2 separate regions of the Homo sapiens genome follow, and region 1 is linked to region 2. The links are contacts of gene promoters, found by promoter capture Hi-C in blood cells and fetal thymus (Javierre and others, 2016). All regions are on one chromosome and are shown on one strand. The core of a region is centred on a gene start or on the middle of the fragment in contact, and the rest is flanking DNA. Distances in the headings are between cores, read along the strand shown. Region 1 has its middle 4.8 kb from the start of LINC-ADAIN. Region 2 holds the start of DOCK8-AS2 (DOCK8 antisense RNA 2).

Region 1 (4,679 bases), core at 1,270-3,769, 570 kb before region 2:
CGGCTGCGGACGCGGCGAAATAAATAATCCCAGATGGGATTGCGGACATAGGATTTCCCAACTTACTTTGCGTAATCAAATACGCGACCCGTCGCAAGCCATGGGGGTGGGGAGTGGAGACTGCGGGAGACAATTCTCTCCGCCAGGCTGTTCGAATCCTCCCTTTCCGGCCGCGCGCGGTGGCTCACGCCTGTCATCCCAGCACTTCGGGAGGCCGAGGCGGGCGGATCACGAGGTCAGGAGATCGAGACCATCCTGGCTAACACGGTGAAGCCCCGTCTCTACTAAAAATACAAAAATTAGCCGGGCGTGGTGGCAGGTGCCTGTAGTCCCAGCTACTCGGGAGGCTGAGGCAGGAGAATGGCGTGAACCCGGGAGGCGGAGCTTGCAGGGAGCCGAGATGGCGCCACCGCCCTCCAGCCTGGGCGACAGAGCGAGACTCCGTCTCAAAAAAAAAACCAAAAAAAAAAAAAAAAAAAGAATCCTCCCTTTCCCTGCTCCGATTTACAAAGGAAAGGAAAAACTGAAGCTCGGAGAAGCTCATGGGAGTTGCTGGGAGACACACAGCTAAAACAGTGGCTGTGCGGGGTCAAAGAGCACCTCCAGCTCCCTGCCTCATACCGTCTTTTTAAATGTGCTCTTTGCAGCGGGATACGGAGTCAGACGCCGACTATGAAGTAATCGTCCCTTCCTAGCATATCTATCTGGAGGATCTGCCAGCCCGCCTGTCCCAACCCCCGGCAGCTTCCATCCTCCATGCTGGGAAACGTGGCTCAATTCCCTTGGGGGGCTGGTAGCAGCCAGGAGATGAGGCAACTGCAGACTTTCTTGACTTCTCAGTACCCATTCCAAATGGTCCTCAGGGGAGGCAGATACCGTGGGCTGTACTGGGGCCTGGGTTCCACCCCCGGGGCTGTGGCCTTGCTATGGAAGGCAGTCCTGGGAGGGCATGTGGCTGGTTGCCACATCAGGAGACACACAGCTCTTCACCCCCGAGAGCCTTCTTGCAGCCCCTAGGGGTCCTCACGACTAACTGGAACAGTAAACCCTTAACTCTGAGAACTTTCCACTCCCTATTCCCATTCTATTTTGGGGTTTTACATTTCAAGGGGGCAGGCTTTATCCACACTGAAATCACTCTCCATATTTTCCCAGCAGTCTAACAACCAGGTAGAGAGGAATCAAGGCGGGGCGGGGCGGGGGGGGGATTGCCAAGTGTTGGCAAGGCAGGTGCTGTGATGAAAAGTTAACTTCTTCCATGTGCATGAACCCCTCAGCAAATCTTTCCACCTTCCTGGGCCTGGGCTTCCTTGACTGTAAAGTGAAGGAGGGAAGTACATTGATTTCTAGGTTCTGCCTCAAACGTTAAAGACTGTAACAAATCTTAACTCCCATCTGATGGACTGCTTGCTCAGGTAGCAAGATCAAGGGTATGAAGAAAGTCCAAGCTGGACAGGAGGAGGAGAGGAGAAGGAAAAGAAGGTGGCGTGTGGGGAATTAGAAACAAGCTTTGGCATTGGTTTTGACATTTTGGTGATATTTTTGCTCCTCTATGCTACTGCTATTAATCTTACCTAGTTAAAAATGTAGGGGGTGGGTGGAATCTATCAACTAGGGAAACGATGGGACATGGAGTAGTTTCACAAAAGATTCAGTTTCCTAGAGCCCAGATCCAATAGGATTCATCCAAGTGACAAAGAAGGTTGCCACAAGTCACAAAGGTTCCATGATCCTGTGGCTTCTAGGTCAGGTTCATTCTGACTGGACTTTAAGCCAAAAATTACCAGGCTTCCTTAGCCCTGTCCTGTGCGAAGCTGACTCTGAGGTCTGAGTTTCAGCTCTGTGGAGGGCTGAAATATTGCCTTTCCTGTTAGCCCCAGGAGATCCCTCTGAAAAGTGTTCTTGCTGGAGGAGGGATTCCCCCCAATTATGCCAGAAGAATCCCTGTGCTCAAATTTTACCCACGCCTGGGAGAAGACTTGCCCAGAACACATGCTCCATAGTGTTTTTCAGGATGGAGTGGGAGTGAGAAAGGAGTGTCTCAGAGGAGGGATCAGAGTGTACTCGGCTCTGTCGTTGGATAGCCAGCGACTCCCCATGATGTCCAGGTGACAAGTGTGATGCTAAGTTTTGCAGCCAACTGGCAAAAGCACAGACACCTTTAAAGAGTACTTGACCTGCCTAAGAGAATGATTATTTTTGTCCATGAAATAAGTAGCAAAAAATATATAGTAAGACTCTAGGGATTCTCCTGTTCTACTCCTGGTTTTGCCAACTGAAGTAACCCTTGACCTTGGGCCACTTTTCTCACCATCACCACTTTAGGCTTCTGCAAAATGAAGAGGTTGAAGTGAAACCAAATCACCTTCCCATATATTTTTTGTAGTTCTAAGTGGGGTGAGAAAATGCAAAAGGCCTGCTCGGGGGTTTCTCCACGGGGATGTGGGGGCGGGGCAGGAGAAAGAGGGGACAAGGAGATACCAAAGCCAGCTTCCAGCGCGCTCCTTGTAACAAGGCGCCACGTAAATTTTAAGGGCCTGGAGGAAATCTTCTCTTTGATAATGCTGACCCCGGAGAGCAGGCGGTGTTCTAAAGGAGGGAGATGAGCAAGTTCCAAGGGGGCGGGTGAAAGGGAAATGTCACTTGCTTCCCACTGACTTAACGCGGCAGGAGCGCAGGTGCAAGAAACCCCCGGACCCTCCCTCCGGCCAACCCCCGCGCCCCACCAACCCCCGCCCCAAGCCTCCACTCCTGCTCCCAACTTTCGCCGAAAATTTATTGACGCGGCGAGGCCAGGCTAACAACACTGCAATCCCAGGCTCTTTGGGCCCCATAGGAATGCTTTGATCTCCCCCCAGCTCTAGCGGTCCTCAGCCGACGGCGTGGCCAAACGCCAGGGCTACCCGCGGCGGGTCGCCGTGCGGGGCGCAGCGGGAGGAGGCCGCGCGGGGGCGCTGTGGGGAGGACACGCCGGTCCGCGCTCAGCATCCGGGCCTGAGACCCAGCGCCCCCGGCTTCCGCGGCCTCCGCGCTCCCTCCGCGTTAACTCATCGCCCTGTCGCGCCCGCTTCTCCAGCGGGTTCGGCGGTCGGGGGAGGACAGTGATCGAGTTCGAAGTTCGGAGGGTCTCTGCGTCTCTGGGGTTTCTATCACTGCTCCTTCCAGCCCTCAAGCGGCTACTCCGAAGAATGACGAAGGGCCCTACTTGCGTAGATTCGTGGGATGATTTTACCAAGAAGGAAAAGGGGGAAAAGAAATCACAATTATTGAGGGTCCAGCCTTGGTCAGATTCCGTGTCAGACCCTTCCAACTTGACATTATTGACTCTTCACAACTCTTCATTTTGTAGTCCAGGAAGCAGGCTCCGAGAGACTGCCTAGAAAAAACAGCACCCGGATCTGAATTCGAGGCCGTCCCACACCCATCCCGGTACGGTTCCCAGCAGAACTGAGCTGGAGTGGCCCTGATGCAAATGAACTTAGATCCCAGCTGCTTGTGATGGAAGCCAATCCCAGCTTTCCCAAGCTTACAGGTTTTTTCCAGAAGAAGCCAACTTGATCTCCCGGAACACGAATTCAGCAGGCTCTCATCTCAGAACTGCCTCCAATCCATCCCATACCCCTTCACACTTCAGTCCTTGGTATTTTCTCCGATCACACCTTCCACTCCTCCTTCATATTTGCAAGTCTCTCCCTGCAGAATCTGCCCCGAGGAGCAAAGGACATTTTTCCATGGGGAACAGAATTTTAGAATTTCCCTTTGTACCCAGTGAGAAAGACTAAAGTTTGGTATAGGAAATAACCCAAAGACAAATCTATACACTGCATAGAACACAGGAAGCCTGGGCTCTGAAAACATAAAAGACACCAAATCATTCCTGGAGCACTTGTGAAGTTTTGGAAAATTCCTTTAACCTCTCTAAACCTCAGTCTCCTCATTTGTAAAATGAACATAATAAATATTTTTTCTTGCCTATGTCAATGGCTTCCTGATTTCCAAATGAAAAAAAAAGCAATTGGAATTCTTTGAAAATAAGAAAGCATTTAAAGCATAAGGTATGAATGAGACTTCTTTTCTTACTTAGTTTGCTTTCTAATCAGGAACCTCACTCCCTGAGTAACAAGTTGGTAAGATCAAATAAGACAAGTCTGGGAAAGGCCACAAAGGGAAATATGGGTGCTGGTTTATTAATTATTGTTCAAGCAATACCCTTTTCTAAAATGAAGCTGCCATTATGTTCCCTTCATCAGCCATATAAGAAATCCAGTGCCTAACCTCCCTTGTGGCCAGTGAGGAACAAAGCTCTGGAATTTTTACACAGATTTCTATTTCCCTGTGGAAGCACTGGAAAGGAAATGTCATTCTCACTTTGAAGAGGAAGAGGGATGCAGCAAGGTAATAAACGCTTTCTAAATAAGCACGTTGATTCAATGCTTTTCATTTCTCTTCAGAGGAAACCCTGTTATTGTGCAAGAAAGGATGAGTCCAGCTTCAACTCTTACCTCACTCAGCTAAGGCTGGTTTCCAGCTGGAACTATAAGCTGGGTTGTTTTCTTTTATATTACTTATACTTTTAATTACGGAAATTTTAACAATATACAAAAGTAGACCAGTAATATAATATCCATTACTATAACCCAGTAGAGTAACCTCCATACCTATATATCCATATGGGTATG
Region 2 (4,593 bases), core at 1,894-4,393:
TCAAATTCTGTCTCTGCTATTTACTGAGTGAGGAGCAGTGGTACGAATCCCTTGTCCTTGGAACTGCTGTATTCTCTCCTGTAGAAAGGAATTATGAAAGGTGTTGTGAGGATCAGGTGAGCTGGCACATGCAATGCACCAACACAGGGCCTGGAATATGGTGGGTGACCACTCACTGCAAACTCTTATTCTTCATGCTTCAGTTACCTATTGCTATATAAAATCTCAACCCAGGCCTTAGCGGCCCCCATGACTATACCCGTTTGTCATGAAGAGCTTTAGTGAGCTTTACTTGAATAACAACCGTTTGTTTGCTCATAGTTTTGTAATCTGAGCTGGGTTCTTCTACTGGTCTCACCTAGGGTAGTTCATGCTCTCATGCTGACCATTAGGAGGCTGAATTGGGGCCAGAAATCCAAGATAGCATCACTCATGTATCAGGAAGCCTGGCTGTCATGCCTGCACCAGCTCGGATCAAGCCTCTGCTTGGTATAGGGCTCTGTTGTCACCGCCTTAAAATTCGGAATAATTTTAAAACAAGGAAACCTGCATTTCCTTTTACACTAATCCCTGCAAATTGTGTAACCAGTCCTTGCAGCTGGATCTCTTTCTATACTAGCTCAGGGCTCCAAGGGAGTGAAAGCAAAAGCTGGCAGGCTTAAGACCAAGGCTAGAACTTGTACAGTATCACTTTGCCGCATTCTATGGGCCAAAGTAATTCACAAGGCCATGCCTGATTCAAGAGGAGGAGTGGGAAAATCTTTATGGCCTACACTTGACCTCCATTTCCTACTTTCAGCATTTGCAGCAACTGGGTCAGCAACTGGGTCCTGAGAGAGCTCTTCTGGTGCTAAGAAGCAGACACCTCCCCAAGTGACCTCACAAAAAGAGGAATATATGGCAGAGGGTTGGAAATCTCTCAGAAATGAGGCATAACCCCATCTTAGGAAAGTGGAAAGAGTTAGAAACTCAGAGTCTGAGGCTACGCCTTGCTTCTCAGTGGTGACATTGACTTCCTTGGTCAGTCATGGCTTGAGGGGAGGTCAGGGAAACTGGTCACTCAGAAGAGACAACTGCCCCTTACAGAGACTGTGGGCAGGCCAGCTCTCTATAAGAGGCTGTGAATAAGGTAGGGTGTATTCCCTGATAGAAAAGTTTTTTTATCAGCCATTTATGAAGCACCAATAATTATATGTAAGAGTGTTTTGGCGTATGGGGATGTGACTCTGGGAGAGCAGGGCTCTTTTTTGTCAGTCACATAAGGGTATATCTCTTTAATTGAAGTTGGGGTTGGGGGCAGGGGAATAATCGGAGGTTTATTCTTACTGTCCTTGTGCTCGGGGAGTCAGCCGCAGTCCCTGGTGACCGGCTCACATATCCTCATGTGGCTAGCAACACCCACCTACCATGGCAGTACAGGAGAACGCTTAACTCACTGTAATCTCCAATGCCTAAGTGCAAACGATTCTCTCGCCTCAGCCTCCGAAGTAGCTAGGACTACAAGTATGCACCACCATGCCTGGCTAATTTCTTTTACAGAGATGGAGGTCTTGCTATGTTGCCTAGGTTTCGAACCCCTGGCCTCAATCAAGCCTCCCACTTTGGCCTCCCAGAACCCTGGGATTGCAGGGGTGAGCCACCGCATCTGGCAGAGAATGCATTCTTTTACAAAAATGCCAACTCACCTCAAAGAAAAGTTGAGTGAAGAAGGATGAGAAATTGTGACTTTATCTTATTTACTTTGGTCCTGCTCCAAGGAAGATGACAGACTGAGGCCCGCATAAGGAGGGAGTCCCACATGGACTTGGGAGTGTCATCACCATCTCCTTGGGGCATGCAGAGAGCGGTCACCATCTCTTGACCTCTCTCCTCAGCATGCTCCCCACTTCCCTACTCTACTTCCTTGTGGTTTCCTTCCTTTGTGCCCTCAGTCTAGTGTCCTTACCCCTGTCCTGGAGACCCCATCTCTTTTCTCCAGTACATAGTGCCCCTCCTCGGTCCCTTCCTGCACATTCCACTCAGCTGGCACTATCGCTTTCCTTGGCCCAGCTTCGCCAGCTCTGAAAAAGCAAGGGGTGAGGTGCAGTCCATCAGATGGAAGAGATGATATAATTGATGATCAGATCCAGGGCAGGTGCCCAGCAGTAACAACTGTGGCAAATTTCTACATAAGCTAGCTGAGAAACAAGCTAATAGAATGAGCTTATTTCCCAGTGACAATGCAATCTAGTGTTCTATGACCGGCTCCTTGCAAAACAATAACCCTGGCATTATGACAAGATTCACATTAACTGTGCAGGGCCCTGTCTTGACTACCCAGGTGGCTAGCACCTACTTGGATAAGAATGTCCTGAGCTTCAAATCTCTTCCCTGATAAAAAGAGGGCTGCTGCTCTCAAGGAACTTCAGTCAAGGGGAGTGGGGGAAGACAGTCCCACACACAGACAAAAAACTAGGGGGTGAAAGGCCAATGAGTGGTGGGAAGGAAAGGGAAAGAAGCTTCCAGAAGTAAGTGCTGAATGGGAGATTAAACTTGGCTGGGGGCCACGGTGGAGCACAGGTGTAATGGAGGGTGGGGCCTCTTTCAAACCTCACTCGTGGCTGTGTGCACGCGTGTCCGTTCCCACTGGAGTGGCGGTGCTTTCTTGTGGCAGGGGATGGGTTGCTTCCCTCCGAAGTCTTCGCTAGAACTCCCTCCTCCTCCTGCTTCCTTTCACCTGTTCGTTCCAAACATACATTGAGCTGCACGTTCTGGGTTCCCTCACGAAGGAGATTTCAGGTCTATGCCCACTTGCCACGATTTTACTTTACTTGGTTCCCAGTTCTACTCCTTTCCCTGAGCTTCACAGTGTTGAGAAAAAAAGCCCTCAGCCTCCCCGAGTCCCTCAGGCCACGCACCCTCTCACTTTGCTAATTTCCAACCACTCGCTGCTGAGCAGGCTGGAGCACGCCCGCTTCGGACGCCCCGAAACACCCTCGGGCGCATGCTCAGTAACTCCCCCACGCCCCTACCCGGGCGCATGCTCAGTAACTCCCCCACGCCCCTACCTGGGCGCATGCTCAGTAACTCCCCCACGCCCCTACCCGGGCGCATGCTCAGTAACTCCCCCTACCCCGCCCGTCCCACCACTGCTGCCCTTCGCCGCCGCCCCCGGCAGTGCTCGCTCTCTCTAGGCCCCATGTAAATCGCTGTGTTTGCTGGGGAGCCCTTAGTTCAATTCTCAGGGGATTAGGGCCATTGAGATTCTTAATCAATTGCTGGGTTCCACGCGATCCTCTTTAGAAACTTTTTGCTTAATATGCATCTAGAGACATGCACGGCCCGCCTGCAGCGCTGGAGCCGATGGAGTGGAGCCTGGGAGGCTGCAGGCGACCCCCAGGCTTCTAAACAGCAACGTCAGTTTAATTATTGCAGATCCGTCACAGCTGCCAAGTCCTCTCTGTCTTCGTTGTTGTTAACGGGGAAACTTGCCGCCCGGTGGCTTTGCTTCAGGCGGAAGTCCGCGTGCTTTGATACCCTCAGGGGGCACTTACAGGCTAGGTGGACACAGGTGGGCTGCGGGACTCCGCGAATTTACCTTCCAGGGGAATGCACTGCACACATGCTGCACACAGGAGACAGGGAAGCCTGGCGAGGTTGGGTTTTCAGGCGCCACTGTATACACTCTCAGTTCCACTGATACCCTTTCTTTCTTCTACCCGCTTTCAGGCGCCACTGTATACACTCTCAGTTCCACTGATACCCTTTCTTTCTTCTACCCGCTTTCAGGCGCCACTGTATACACTCTCAGTTCCACTGATACCCTTTCTTTCTTCTACCCGCTTTCAGGCGCCACTGTATACACTCTCAGTTCCACTGATACCCTTTCTTTCTTCTACCCGGAGGCCCTGGTAGTTGGCTCTCGCCAGACAATGTAAACTGGCACTACAAGTGGAATAGACCAGACGTTTATTTTCTGGTAAGTCAGGCCTCTGTCCTGCCTGCACCTTTGGCCTGATTTTGATTAACGTTGTCAGAAGCGGATGCCATGTGTGGGGGTGCTGGCTAAACTTTCTGGAAGTGTCAATTGTAAACAGTGTTACCTTACATTTTGGGCAGCACTTTTGAGTTTCCAAAACATGTTCCCATGCATTATCTCATTGGGTTTCCTCAGTAGATTGGAAGAATGTGGAGGAACTTGCACCCTCTTTCACAGTGAAAAAAACCCTGAAGCTCAGAGCAGTATAGTATCTTCGCCAGAATTGCAGGACTAGAAAGTGAAAGAACAAGAAACCAGGTCTTCTGGTCCTTAGTCTGGAGACTTTTGGCAGTCACATATACTTTTTTATTATCTCACTAATAACTCTTGATAATCTTGTTGGATAACAGAACAGTTTGTTCATCCGTGTCGTGTTCTCTCATTGCATTAAGGAAGTGATGAGGGAGCTGATTTCTCAATTGTTTTTTAGAGCTATAATGCCTTGAAAATCATTCCCTTATCCTGGCTATCAGTAATTTGCCATCTCCTAATATGTAGTAAAAATAGTAAACGTAAAAACTAGCTGCCAAGCTAATGCCACAAACATCAAGTAGGAACTGGGTTGGATTCAGTAA

What was found. Contacts are between HindIII fragments. The CHiCAGO score rates a contact against its expected background, and 5 or more counts as called.
Region 1: a fragment that was not itself captured here is called in contact with the fragment with the promoter of DOCK8-AS2 in region 2 in 1 of 17 cell types (M0 macrophages); the score reaches 6.9 in M0 macrophages.

What each region holds. Positions count from the first base shown.
Region 1 is chr9:1,040,957-1,045,635 of GRCh38, reverse strand. No RefSeq gene overlaps it. Among named protein-coding and RNA genes, the nearest start is that of LINC-ADAIN, 4.8 kb to the left of the region's middle. The HindIII fragment of the contact is 2,017 bases long and covers 1,511-3,527 here.
Region 2 is chr9:468,679-473,271 of GRCh38, reverse strand. It overlaps DOCK8-AS2 (DOCK8 antisense RNA 2), which reads left to right and starts at 3,143. Exons shown (of 2, transcript XR_002956871.2): 1 at 3,143-3,958. It also overlaps a transcript of KANK1 not described here. RefSeq lists a silencer at 3,056-3,105 and enhancers at 3,216-3,365, 2,868-3,393, 3,926-4,025, 4,266-4,315. The HindIII fragment of the contact is 2,947 bases long and covers 2,501-4,593 here.